4 separate regions of the Homo sapiens genome follow, and regions 2, 3 and 4 are each linked to region 1. The links are contacts of gene promoters, found by promoter capture Hi-C in blood cells and fetal thymus (Javierre and others, 2016). All regions are on one chromosome and are shown on one strand. The core of a region is centred on a gene start or on the middle of the fragment in contact, and the rest is flanking DNA. Distances in the headings are between cores, read along the strand shown.

The links. The method cuts DNA at HindIII sites, captures the fragments that hold promoters and counts their contacts. A CHiCAGO score of 5 or more calls a contact.
Region 2: a fragment that was not itself captured here is called in contact with the fragment with the promoter of TEAD1 in region 1 in 1 of 17 cell types (endothelial precursors); the score reaches 5.3 in endothelial precursors.
Region 3: a fragment that was not itself captured here is called in contact with the fragment with the promoter of TEAD1 in region 1 in 1 of 17 cell types (endothelial precursors); the score reaches 5.1 in endothelial precursors.
Region 4: a contact is called between a fragment that was not itself captured here and the fragment with the promoter of TEAD1 in region 1, in 1 of 17 cell types (endothelial precursors). The highest score is 7.1, in endothelial precursors.

What each region holds. Positions count from the first base shown.
Region 1 is chr11:12,672,762-12,675,957 of GRCh38, forward strand. TEAD1 (TEA domain transcription factor 1) reads left to right here and starts at 1,660. Exons shown (of 13, transcript NM_021961.6): 1 at 1,660-2,073; 2 at 2,648-2,800. RefSeq lists a silencer at 1,352-1,651 and an enhancer at 2,487-3,196. The HindIII fragment of the contact is 11,683 bases long and covers 1-3,196 here.
Region 2 is chr11:12,291,893-12,295,088 of GRCh38, forward strand. It overlaps a transcript of MICAL2 not described here. Among named protein-coding and RNA genes, the nearest start is that of PARVA, 84 kb to the right of the region's middle. The HindIII fragment of the contact is 5,552 bases long and covers 1-3,196 here.
Region 3 is chr11:12,362,312-12,365,507 of GRCh38, forward strand. No RefSeq gene overlaps it. Among named protein-coding and RNA genes, the nearest start is that of PARVA, 14 kb to the right of the region's middle. The HindIII fragment of the contact is 2,360 bases long and covers 376-2,735 here.
Region 4 is chr11:12,410,019-12,413,214 of GRCh38, forward strand. All of the region lies in intron 1 of PARVA (parvin alpha), which reads left to right. Among named protein-coding and RNA genes, the nearest start is that of PARVA, 34 kb to the left of the region's middle. The HindIII fragment of the contact is 1,044 bases long and covers 1,117-2,160 here.

The DNA of each region.
Region 1 (3,196 bases), core at 410-2,909:
ACTGTATTAGAGTTTTGGAAGACATTACCAGTGGGGAGAACTGGGCAAAGTGAACAAACGATTTATTATTATTTTTTACAACTGCCTGTTACTCCGATTACTTCAAGAGTTGAAATTAAAAATGTATTAATAAGACTGGGTGCAGTGGCTCACTTTTGTAATTCCAGCACTTCAGGAAGCCGAGGCAGGAGGACAGCTTGAGCCCGGGCGTCTGAGACCAGCCTGGGCAGCATGGTGAAACTGCATCTCTACAAAAAAATTTTAGAAATTAGCTAGGCGTGGTGGTGCGTGCCTGTAGTTCCAGCTATTCGGGAGGCTGAAAAGGGAGGATGGCTTGATTCCAGGGAGTCGAGGCTGCAGCGAGCCCAGATCGCACCATTGCATTCTAGCCTAGGTGACAGAGCAAGATCCTGTCTCCAAAAATAAAATAAAAAAAAAATTAAAAAAAAGGAAAACAATGTATTAGTAAAAGTTATGTTTTGTAGAAATGTGTTGCACTCAGTCACAGTCTAGTCTCCTCAGTTACCCATATATAGGGATATAGGGATTCCTCGGGCACAAAATATGTTGTTATTTAATCCTGAGGCCTCAGCTGGAAAAGAGAGCCAAGTGCCTAGAACGAATGAGGTCCACTGTGCGGGAACTGCTTTGCAGTTTGTTAAATAATTATAACAATCACCCGAAACTTTAGACGGTTCTGTCCCCAGTGGGTCGATTTTACCCGTTTTCTGATTTACCGACTGCGTCTATGTCACTTTTGCGTCACTACCTCCAATGGCAGGGTTAAAATGATTCCTTTAATAATGAAATGAAGTTTCTCAATAATGAAAGGGCTAACTTAAAGTCGCCGGATGCAGCATTTCAAAGTTTAGGAAGTTACTTTTGAAAAGTACAACCGGCAGAGATGAGTGAACTTAGTTTTTTAACTGACTTGGAGAAGACCTTGCTAGCAGGGCAGGTTTATTACGAACTCTGTAATTATCCTTCTTTGCTAAGCTAAAGGTTTTCCTTTCCCAACCGTAAGACAGATTTCGACTTGAGTGAGAGCTGTGAACTTTTATAAAAGTGAAAGGGAAGAGAAGAAATGGCAGGCTGGGAATCTGGCCCGGAGACGGCGTCCACCGCGCTCGAGAGCAACAATCTGCATCACCAGAAAGGCAACTTCTCTACCCTACACTTGCAGACTTCCGCGAGTCCGGGAGCACTCAACGCAGTCACCCGCGCTTCCGCGTCCCGGACTAGGGAAACTGAGGCACGGTAGGCGCGTCGCGCGCAACTCCCGCCTCGGCGCCTGCCCCCTGGAAGAAACCCAGGCTTCCAGAGTTCTTCGCGCGAGCGCAGGGACTTCCAAGCCGCGCAGCTCCCGTCCGCCCCGCCCCGCCCCGCCCCGGCTCGGGACAAAGCCCGGAGCCCGCGCCGGGAGACGGAGGGCGGCTCCCGCGCGAGCCACGCTCCCCCGTGGGCGCGAGACTCCGCCCAGCTGCCGAAAGCCCGCGCCCCAACGGCGAAGCAGCCGCGCCGGTCCGCCCCGATTCCCCATGACGTCACCGGCGGCGGCAGGCCCCGCCTCCAGCCCCGGGCGGCAGGCCGCATGACGTCACCGAGGCCCCACCCCTCCGGAGCGAGTTCGGTCCTGGCGTTCATTTCATTCCTGTCCTCATTCCGAACATTCTTAGCATCGCTCGCGCCGCGCCGCGCCGCCTGAGCCGAGCCGAGCCTCTGCTGCCGCCGCCGCGGCCCCGCCGCCCGCCGCGGGCGCCCACCAAGCACTTTGCAGACTCGCTTCCACCCTGCGGGCCATTCCGCGCGGCGGGGCCCGGGCCCGGGGCGGCCGCGTCCAGGCACAGGCCATGCAGTGACGCCCCCCCACCCCTCCACCTTTGCCCGGAGCGCGGGCAGCAGCCCAGCGCGCCAGCCGGCCCCGGGGCAGGAGCGGTGCTAGGCAGGGGTGGGGTGGCCGGGCCCAGGGACCGGGAGCCGGGGAGGGAGCCGGGCACCGAGCAGAGGGCGGGGGAAGCGGCGCCGAAGTTTGCCTCGGACTCGCCGGGCGCTGCGGTGGCTCCCTGGGCCGAGGTAAGTTGGCGCGCGGGGCGGATGCTGGGGTGCGGGGGGCGCACGGGGCAGCGGGGGGCCGGCGGCGCGTCCCTCGCGGGCCGCTCTTTCTTTGCGGGCTCTGCTTTGTGTGCGACGGCGGGCGGGCACGCGGAGGGCCGCGGCCGGGCCCCCACACCCGCCTCCCCGCGCCCCCTCCGAGGTGAGCGGCCGGGCGCCGCCGCGCGACTTGCCAGGACGCCAAGTTGGGCCGCGCGCTGGGAGCCCGCGCGGCAACAGGCGGCCCCCGGCCGGCCGCGCCGCGCCCCCCGCGCGCCCCCTCTCCCGCCGCCTGCACGCGCACACACGCACACACCCTCGGGCGCCTTGGACGGGGTGCGCTGGGGAGCCAGAAGTTCGGAGCGAGCGCGGGCGGGCAGAGCCGCCGCCTCGGAGCCCGGAGCCGGCCTGCACCCCCCTGCTTTCGCCGCCGCCCCCCGGCGCCGGGTACCCCCGAGGCCGGCCCGGGTCTGCGCAGACTTGTGCCGCTGGCGGGGGGTTCGCTCCTTCTTCTCAAAGATGAAAAAGGGCACGGTCGTCTTTGCCGCTTCTCCAGGACTGTTGCTGCCGCTGCCGCCGCCGCTTCATTGCACATTCAAGTGGAAAATTTTCAGGAGTCAGCAGAAACATTGTGTCCAAAAAAGACTGAGTCGCAGTTACCACCAAACCCAGGAGGAGACTCTCCCTGGAAAACTTCCCTTCCCTTTCGGTAGGAAATACTGGGGGATTTGTTTGTTGATTGGAAGAGAAATGATCCCCGGGGGGGAGAAAATCTGGGTACACTTCTAGTCTTTGTTCGTAACAGCAACACTTGTTTTCAAAAGTCCAGAGTCCCGCTTTAAAGAAAGTTTAACTTCTGTGACTTTTCTTCTTTTTAAAAAAATAACTTTTGTATTTTTAAAAAATCAAAGCAATATTTTTAATGAGTCGAAAACAATGAGGACTCACACCTCCCCTCTCATGAAAATAAATGAAATCCAGATCAGAATTTTCTTTGCTTTTAAATTGCCTTTTTTAAAAGATTTATTTAAAGTTGGATAGTGTCACTATATAAAAATATTTATGAAACAATGAAATACCAGCCACCAGCGTTTCTCAGGAGGCT
Region 2 (3,196 bases), core at 347-2,846, 380 kb before region 1:
ATCGCATGAGTCTGAAACACAATGGTTATTAGACTTCTCACCCTGGGACTTCCTTTGCCCCACGGGACCCTGCCACTGCTCTACCCATTCCTCTGAGTCCCACGCCTTGGGCACCAGGAACCTCTGAGTCAGGCTCTGACATCTTCCTCTTTCTGACTGTTTATAGAATTGGAGCTTCACTTAAAGCCTCCTCTTTTCTTGATAAAATAATAACACCTTTGTAATGAAGAGTGTGTTCTTTCCTTGGTAGGTTTGACGCCAGTGAACAAAAGAACTATGTCACCTCCTAAGGACCCTTCTCCTTCTCTTCCTCTTCCTTCATCGTCTTCCCATTCATCTTCCCCACCATCTTCTTCTTCAACCAGTGTTTCTGGGAATGCTCCAGATGGTTCCTCCCCGCCTCAGGTGAGTGTCCCTGAGGGTCCTGCCCAGGTGTCAGGAAGCTAACCTACCTGTACTCTTCCCACCTTCCACACTTATCTCTGGATTCCACGTGCTCATAGGTCAACCTAAGTGCAAAGCCAGCGCCAGAAGATACTCTGTCAAGGGTCTACCCCAGCTGCCTTCATGTATACCTTTCACAAAAGCTCCTGCTGTTCCTTCACAGCCATCCCTGAGGACACAGTCATTCCCTCAGCAAACTTTACAGGGTTTAGACTCCATGCCAGGTCTCCATGAGATACAGAGCTGCTAGGACACCTTTCCCTTGAGAACTTGCAAAGGGCATTGAGGAATTTGCAGCTGTAGGATGGCAGGCACAGAAGTGAGGGTCCCTTTGGTAGGGTCCAAGAACCTTGGAAGCAACATCTCCCTTGAATATAAAATGTCATCATTGGTATGCAGGCTGGACTCTTTCCTTCTGTATGTATTTATCAAGCCTCTGTTACCTGCCAGGCCTGTTCTAGACTCTGGAAAGTAGAATGCACAAGACAGAAAAGATGGGTGCTCTGGTGAAGCCCCTGTGCTATGACCTGCCCTTCAGGCACCAGAGGTCTTGGGAGGGCACAGCCACCCCTAGAGTCCACTCATGTTCCCTCTTTGCCAAGGGCCAAGTTCCTGCATGCTAGAAATAGCTCCTTTCTCAGTGGTGCAATGTGGGAGGTTAAAAAGGGTCATTGAAAGGTCTTAAGGGCCATCCTTGTGCCACCACAGCTTCAGCCCAGAGAGTGACTGTCGCTTCTTACTTTGATGGCCTCCAAGGAAGAAGCCTTGGTTTCTTGGTTGTTGGAGGAACATACCTATGGGTGGATCATGCCTTTTAGTACAGACAATGGCTGAGCAAGAAAATGAAGAGCTTATCTTCCCCTATGTGCCTGGCCACCCACAGAGGCCCAGCCAGTCCTACCATCATGGGCCCGGGAGCTTATCAACAGCAGTGTCCTACCTTTGCCTTCCCCCTGGCTTCCAACCCAGCTAATCTGGGATTCAGAAAAGCCTTTCGTCAGTACTGATTCGGGGGTTCCAGGCAGATCCTGGCAGGACCCAAGGCAGCTACTTAGAACAAAGAGTATCCCTTTAAAATCATCTTAGGCAAAATTATTTTTTAATTTGGGCATCTGAGATGGGAAGAAAAAACAGGGAGGGGGTTGTAGATTGAGATTTGCTTTCATCATATAAATAAATGATGAAAATTTTTAAATAACTGCTATTTTTGCCCATCCCATCTAGATGACAGCTTCTGAGCCCCTCTCGCAAGTCTCGAGAGGTCATCCAAGTCCTCCCACCCCAAACTTTCGGAGGCGAGCCGTAGCCCAAGGAGCACCCAGGGAAATTCCCCTGTATCTGCCTCATCACCCAAAGCCAGAGTGGGCAGAGTACTGCCTGGTGAGCCCTGGTGAAGATGGCCTCTCAGACCCTGCAGAGATGACTTCTGATGAGTGCCAGCCAGCAGAGGCCCCTCTTGGGGACATCGGAAGCAACCACAGAGACCCACACCCCATCTGGGGGAAGGACAGGAGCTGGACAGGGCAAGAGCTATCTCCCTTGGCTGGAGAAGACCGGGAAAAAGGGAGTACTGGAGCCAGGAAGGAAGAAGAGGGAGGGCCAGTGCTGGTAAAGGAGAAGTTGGGCCTGAAGAAGTTAGTCCTCACTCAGGAGCAGAAGACCATGTTGTTGGATTGGAATGACTCCATCCCTGAGAGTGTGCACCTCAAAGCTGGGGAGCGAATTTCCCAGAAAAGTGCTGAGAATGGTAGAGGAGGCCGTGTGCTAAAACCAGTCCGCCCCCTGCTGCTCCCTAGGGCAGCAGGAGAGCCCCTGCCAACCCAGAGAGGGGCCCAGGAGAAGATGGGGACCCCTGCGGAACAAGCTCAAGGGGAGCGAAACGTGCCTCCACCCAAGTCCCCACTGCGGCTCATAGCCAATGCCATCCGAAGGTCTCTAGAGCCCCTCCTTTCCAACTCTGAAGGCGGGAAGAAGGCCTGGGCCAAGCAAGAATCCAAAACTTTGCCCGCACAGGCCTGCACTCGCTCATTCAGCCTTCGGAAAACCAATTCCAATAAAGACGGGGACCAGCATTCCCCTGGGAGAAACCAGTCCTCAGCCTTTAGCCCTCCTGACCCTGCCCTCCGCACCCACAGTTTGCCCAATCGGCCATCCAAGGTCTTTCCTGCACTTAGGTCCCCACCCTGCAGCAAGATTGAAGATGTCCCCACACTCCTCGAGAAAGTGAGTTTGCAAGAGAACTTCCCAGATGCTTCTAAGCCTCCAAAGAAAAGAATCTCACTTTTTTCCTCCCTCAGACTCAAAGACAAATCTTTTGAGAGTTTCCTCCAAGAATCCAGACAAAGAAAGGACATCAGGGACCTCTTTGGCAGCCCCAAGAGGAAGGTGCTGCCTGAAGATAGTGCGCAGGCCCTGGAGAAGCTGCTGCAGCCTTTCAAAAGCACCTCCCTGCGCCAGGCAGCTCCTCCTCCTCCTCCTCCTCCTCCTCCTCCTCCTCCTCCTCCTACAGCGGGAGGTGCAGGTAAGTGGCTCTGTCCTGATAAATGTCTGCCCTTCATGCTGGGCAGTTAGTAATCTTCATTGCATCGACAAGCAGGCATCTTTCACTTCGTTTTGCTTCTCAAATACTAACAAAAGTAGGAAAACTTTAAAGGCAAAAAATTTGAAAAAAATCTGAAAAAATTAGTTTTGAAATTATAGAAAGTTGAAAAGAGACCAATCAACCATAACCCTACGACCACTTTCTCATTTA
Region 3 (3,196 bases), core at 306-2,805, 310 kb before region 1:
GGATTTGAATGGGAGGAGAAGCGAAGAAGGCTCACCTCAGGTGTATTCCTTCAACAAAGAAAGCTGTTTTCAAGGCTGGGGAAGGGGAGGGATGAGGCTTATGGTAGTCCCAGCCCCTCCCTTTCTCTCACCTTTCTCTCACCTGGTTTTGTATTTAATTCGCTCAACAGGAACGTTTCCTTCTGCGCAGATCTAGCCTCTTCCTTCAAGTCACATTCTTTTAGTTTGTTCTTATTACCTCTTTTCTTAACCCCAGCACATGCATATTCTTAAACTATGAGTGCAGGGTACACCAGAATTGCCACATCACAGTAATCAACCCATGAGTCCCAGGAGCTCCCATCATTCCACACGAAGGTGCCCCATTTGTTTGAAAGCTTTTGTCTGCTGATCAAATATTTGAAAGGATTTATTTTTCCATTGAGCATCAACAACAAATATACATAACTGCAGATGAGAGCTCCTGTTTTACCAGCACTAATGTGGGGAGTGAAGAGCTCCAAGCAACAGCCACCTCTGATGGCACTTTGCAAGTTTTTCCTTGGGGCTCAGCTGACATCCTCATACTCACAGAGCTGCAGACTCTCAGCCATTGCTGCAACTCACCGTCTCTGAGCCTTCAGGGCACACTTTCTAATTTCATGCTCACTCCCTCTCCCAGTTCACTTAGAAATAAAAGAAAGCAAAACCAAACATCACAGCACCCTTCCCCCAGCCCCTCTGACCCTGATAATGGTAACAGCTACTGTGAACTCAGCTCTTCTCACCTACCAGGTGAACTAGGCCAGGAAACTCACTCCCCAGAACTCTGTCACCTCTCTGATTTCATCTGACTCACTAGAGTGCTCGTGGAATCTCTTTGGGGACCATCTCTTTGGACTGCCCTCTGCTGACCAGATGTCCAGCCCCTTGCACAGCTCTTTGGCCAATACTCCTTCAAGTATACCCTTTAGTGTTTCCAGCAGACAACATCTGGCCTTGGTGATTTGGTTCCATTTCATTGTTAGACATAATACTTCTAACCTTCCTCCCTAAGAGGAAACATCCAACGTATGAATAGCTATAATATCTCCCCCCAAGAAAGATGGAAGCGGGGTCTCTCACTCCTCCAGATCACACTGACCTAGGAAAGAATTGGGGAGAGGAAAATCAAGACCATGGGTATAATCTCAGTGGCCTGGGACATGGACCACACACCAGTACAATCACTGGGGCCCCAGGTATTCCCCCTTGCCTGGCTGAGTCTGCATTGGCTCACACCTGCTGCTTTCTGCCCTTAAAAGCATTGCTGTGCTCTTGTTTACCTGTGTGTTATTCATTCCTCTGTTTGATTACCCAAGGAGGAACTACTGATTTTAGGGCTTCACTTCTGCAGCTGGCCCTCAGCTATCATGCTGAGGTGAGAAAATCTCTCCACCACTGTCTGTAGTTCATTATTACCCCTGAAGGGTAGGTGAGCAGGTCATCTGTCTCAAAGAACTTTGGACTCATTCCCCCATGGCTGAATCAGAGGCGATTTGAGTGGCATCATCCTGTGTGGTCCTCAAAAACAGCCCTGCCCTCAGTCTACCATGTTACCAACTAAGGCTGAGGTTGTCCAACTTCCTCCTGTCCTGTGACTTCCCTGCCCACCAAGAGAATTCCTATTCTCCCACTCCATCCCTGCCACCTGGACAGCCTTCACCCAGACAGGTAGAATTCCTGGAGGACATGCTCACCGGCAGGCTGACCTTCAAAGGCCACCACTAATATTCCAGAGTTCCCAAGGGGGACATGCAATGAGGCTTGTCCCTTAAGACCCCCACTCCACAGACATTTCATTTCTCACGCATTCCTTTCATCCTAAGAGCACATCTTGCTTGCAGTGATCAAAGAGATCCTCAAGAGGCTCTGGCTGGCTTCTCTCTTCCCCCTCCTGCTTTGCTGCAGTCAAATAACTCTGACTATTGGTTGGGATCCAGAGCTTTTGTAAAACCCTCATCTTGATCTGCAGGGGATGCCATTTTGTCCCTTAGATGGTATGTGGTTCATGTCCCAGGCCACTGAGATGACACCAAGTTCTTGATTTTCCTCTCCCCAATGCTTTCCGAGGTCAGTGTGATCTGGAAGAGTGAGAGTCTCCTAGGGCTGCTGTTACAAAGTACAGCAGGTTTAAAACAGCAGAAATTTATTATCTCCCAGTCCTGGAGGCTAGAAATCCAAAGTTAAGGTGTCTGCTGAGCCATGTTCCCTCTGAGACTCTAGGGGAGGATTCTTTGTCGCCTCCTCCACCTTCTGGAAGTCCCAGGCATCCCTTGGCATGTGGCTGCATCACTCCAATGGCCATCTTCTTCCTGTATCTTTGCATCACATTCCCTCTGTGCATATCTGTGTCCAAATTTTCTTCTTCCCATAAAGATACAAGTCTCATTGGATTAGGTGCCCACCATATTCCAGTATGACCTAAATACAATTTTTAGCAACTAATTACATTGGCAATGACCCTACTTCCAGGATCCCATTCTGAAGTACTGGGTGTTACACCTTCAACGTATCTTTTTTAGGGGACAAAATTCAACCCATAACAGATGGCCTTCACATTTAGGAAGAATATCTTTTCCTAGTGAAAGCCACTTTGGGCTTGAATTTTGCCTTAATTTGCTTTGATATGATTGGTTTACCTCTATCCTGGGTTTTTAAGCTATTCAATAAAAAGCAACCCAGTAAAATAAATAGATAACAGAATACAAAAGAAAAGCTTCCTTCTATATGACAGATACAGATCACATGTAATTTATGAAATCTGAATGGAGCACCTAGACTCCAATTTTCGTTCCATTATCTTGGTACTTATAGTTACTATTTTATTATTCCTTTAATGGTTACCCTAGAGATTACAACATGATCCTTGATTTATCAGAGTCCAATAGAACTTGCTACTTTTACTTCTTCCCAGACAATGCCTGGATCTTAAAACACTTAACTCCATTTATTCACTTCCCGATTTGAATGCTTCTGCTTTTGTGTATTTTATTTTGATTTAGTTTTTAAATCCTGTATTATTTATGTTGTTGTGTATAGCGAATAGGCTTTTATGCTTACCCATATACTTACCCTCACTTGGGATGATTTTCCTTCTGCCATTCACTTCAGTATTTCCTCTTGTTTGGATCAACTATTAATAATTTTTCTCATGGTGGATAAGCTTTTTGATGTG
Region 4 (3,196 bases), core at 389-2,888, 260 kb before region 1:
GTAAACTCTAGGAGTACCAAATTCCAAATGTGCCTCTAGGTGGCACATAGTAGCCTCTCAAGTACACTGGTGAAGTGACTCCCACTTTTAATTGATCCAGGAGGGCAGGAGAGACTACAGAGCTCATGGTAAGGGATTAGGCTCTCAGCCCTAGGCATCTCCGGGCTGGGCCACCCAGGCCCCCGGGACTGCAGGGCAGGGATCAGGTTTGCCTTGTGCTGGCCTGGGCTCTGCTTGAAGTCCTATCTGCCCTTTCCTCATCTTCAGGGCTCAGCCCACAGGCCTCCTCCAGGAACACCCCTGCCTACCCCAGGCCACAGGAAGCATTCCCTCCAAGGTCTGCCTTTCCCCCCGGCAGGGACTCCGGGCCAGCTGCTCCATCTCTTGGGCTGCGGTTATTTTCTCTTTACTGTCGGCTCCTGTCTGTGGAGACAGGCCTGTGCCAGGCATACATTCAGGGGCTCAGCAATGCCTGTGGTTTGATTGGTTGGGTCTAGATCCGAAGGATTGCTATACGAGGGCTTTTGCTTTATCCTTTTAGGGAAGTTCATTCTCTCTCGTTGCTTCTCCTCCTCCTTTTGGAGACATCACTAGAAAATCTCAGCAGCAGGAGCCCAGTGCCTACGCCAGCCCATCTTTCACACTGTAGCTGCCAGAATGTTCATTCCCAAACCAAACTCTGACCTAGTTCCTCCTCCAGTGGAAAACTACTGAGGATCCCTTCTTCTCCCCACCCCATCTATAGCTATGGCTTTCAGTGTTAAAAAGAAAGAAATAAATGAAAGTTATGTGGACCCTTCTTTTTCAATAAAGTATCGCATGGAATGTTCATCATTAAGCATCTGGACTCTGGCATCAGACAGACCTGGGTCCAAATGCAGGCTCTGCCACTTACCTGTATAACCTCAGGCAAGCTGTCTAACCTCGCCGTACCTCACTTTTCTCAGCTGTAAAATGGGGGTGTGATACTGACGATCCCTAGTTCATGAGGCTGTTGTGGAGATCAAGTATGGTACTTAGCAGAGTACCTGGCCTGGTATAGCTACCAAATAAATGTTAGCTAATGTTACTAGAGCACAAGTTAATTTTCTAAGTTCTAACTTATAACAGTTATAAAGCTTATCAGTGACAATAATTTGGCTGTTTGGATGAACAAAGGATTTTTAAAAACAGATTTCACTTTTTATTAGGTTGCTGCAAAGGTAATTGCGATCTTTGCCATCTTAATGGTAAAAACCACAATTACCTTTGCACCAACCTAATAGAACAGTTTTAGATTTACAAGAAATTGTGGGATAGTGCAGAGAGTTCCCATAGGCCCTGTACCCAGTTCCCCTATTGCCAACATTGTACATTGGTATGGTACATTTATTATAATTAATGAACCAATGTTAATACATAATCATCAACTAAAGTTCATACTTTATTCAAAACTCCTTAGTTTTTCCCTAATAGATTTCTTTTTCTGTTCCAGGGTTCCACCAGGGAAGGTACCATAGTACATTAGGTTGTCACGCCTCCCTAGGTTCCTCTTGGCTATAATAGCTTTTTTACTTTCCTTGTTTTTGATGGCCTCGGCACTTTTTAGGAGTACTGGTCAGGTGTTTTGTAGGATGCCCCTCTACTAGAATTTATCTGATATTCTTCTCATGGTTAGACGGAATTGAACACAGAAATGTAAAGTTAGCAGATTATGGATGACCACTCCAGTTTTCCCTTGGTCTCAGCATCCATGAAATTAGAATCAGATGTTTATGGGGAGTCTAAAAACATGGTTTGAAAAATCACTGGAGAAGATCAAGTCTACACTCCCTGGTGTGACCTACGAGGTCTTCTCACTCCAAGCCCTGCCCACATCACCAGCCTGCTTTATCACTCCTTCCTGCTGCAGGCACCCCCAGCTTCTCAGCATTCCCCTAATAGGTCCGGGCATTGAGGCATATCGACTCATCCCCCAGGAATGCCTTCCCTCCTTTCTCTGCCTGCCTAGTTTCTTTCTAATCTCTATGCAAAGACTCTAAGATCCAGTTTAACTTATCCTTCCTCCCTGATGCAATTCCCACTTTCCTTACAGAGACTGACACTGTCCCTAGGGTTCCCTGGGCACATCTCTCTATTGTCTTTCTCAGCTCTCATGTCTGCCTCTTCCTGTACACTGGAAGCTTCTTAAGAGCAGGAGCTGAGTCATAATCCTCTATTCCTCATGTCCAGCGTGAGCCTGGCACACAGTAGGTGCTTAAGAGATGCTTAATGAATGACTCTTGATGTTAGAGAAAGGTGCCATTTCTATACCATCTTTAACACAGAGCATGTTGCCTTCATCCTAAGAAAATGGGGTGCCCCAGTGGATGATGGATACCAGAGATTAACCCTTGGGTGGGTCTTTTAAGGCCGTTTTCTCCCTGCCCCAGAGGGTGTGGGAATGAGGTGTGAGTATGGAAAGGACCACCAGGGGGCTCCGGGATGCAGTTCACCAGCCCAGGCCGAGAGGAAGGCTCAGTGGTGGCTTCAGCAGCAAGCCTGGGTCTGGCAGAATCCTCAAAGAAAGTGTGTCAAAAGAGAGGTCTGTTTTGCTACTGATGTGCCAGGCTCTGTAGCAAGGACAGGATGTACCAGCCTGTTCTTTAAACATGTGTGGGCCCCTCACTGTCCTTTGCCCCAGAGGTCCCAGCCTACAGAGAAAGGGACAAAAGATCCTGAGAGCCAAGAAAATAATATTTGCAGGAAAAATGGTCTTGTTATATGCGCAAGCAGACCTTTACTTCATTCAGACTTCCTAATTTCCCTTTCCACGCCAGTGTTAATAGTTCTCCTTGGATCGCAAACTCTTAATAGATATTCCTAAGGCCAAAAGTATCACTGAGAAGTTGGAGCCAAAATCTCAGGGCTTTTCTTTTGAATTCTATAAGAAGAGGGGAAAACAGCTGAGTTAATCTGAAATAATGAAGCTGGAATTAGAAATTGCTCTGGTCAGTAACATCCACTGTTTTGTTTTTTTGTTGTGTTATTAAGAGTAATAATAACAATAGCTCTTGTGCATTGGGTGCCAACTCTGTGCCAGGCATTGGGATGCAGGCGTCTGCCTGTGCCAGGCATTTGTCTTTGGGCATACAAGGGGAATTAGGCCAGGATAATCTCTGCCCATTCTGCCACAAAGATATTATCTCCATTTCATAGATGAGGAAATTGAGGCCCG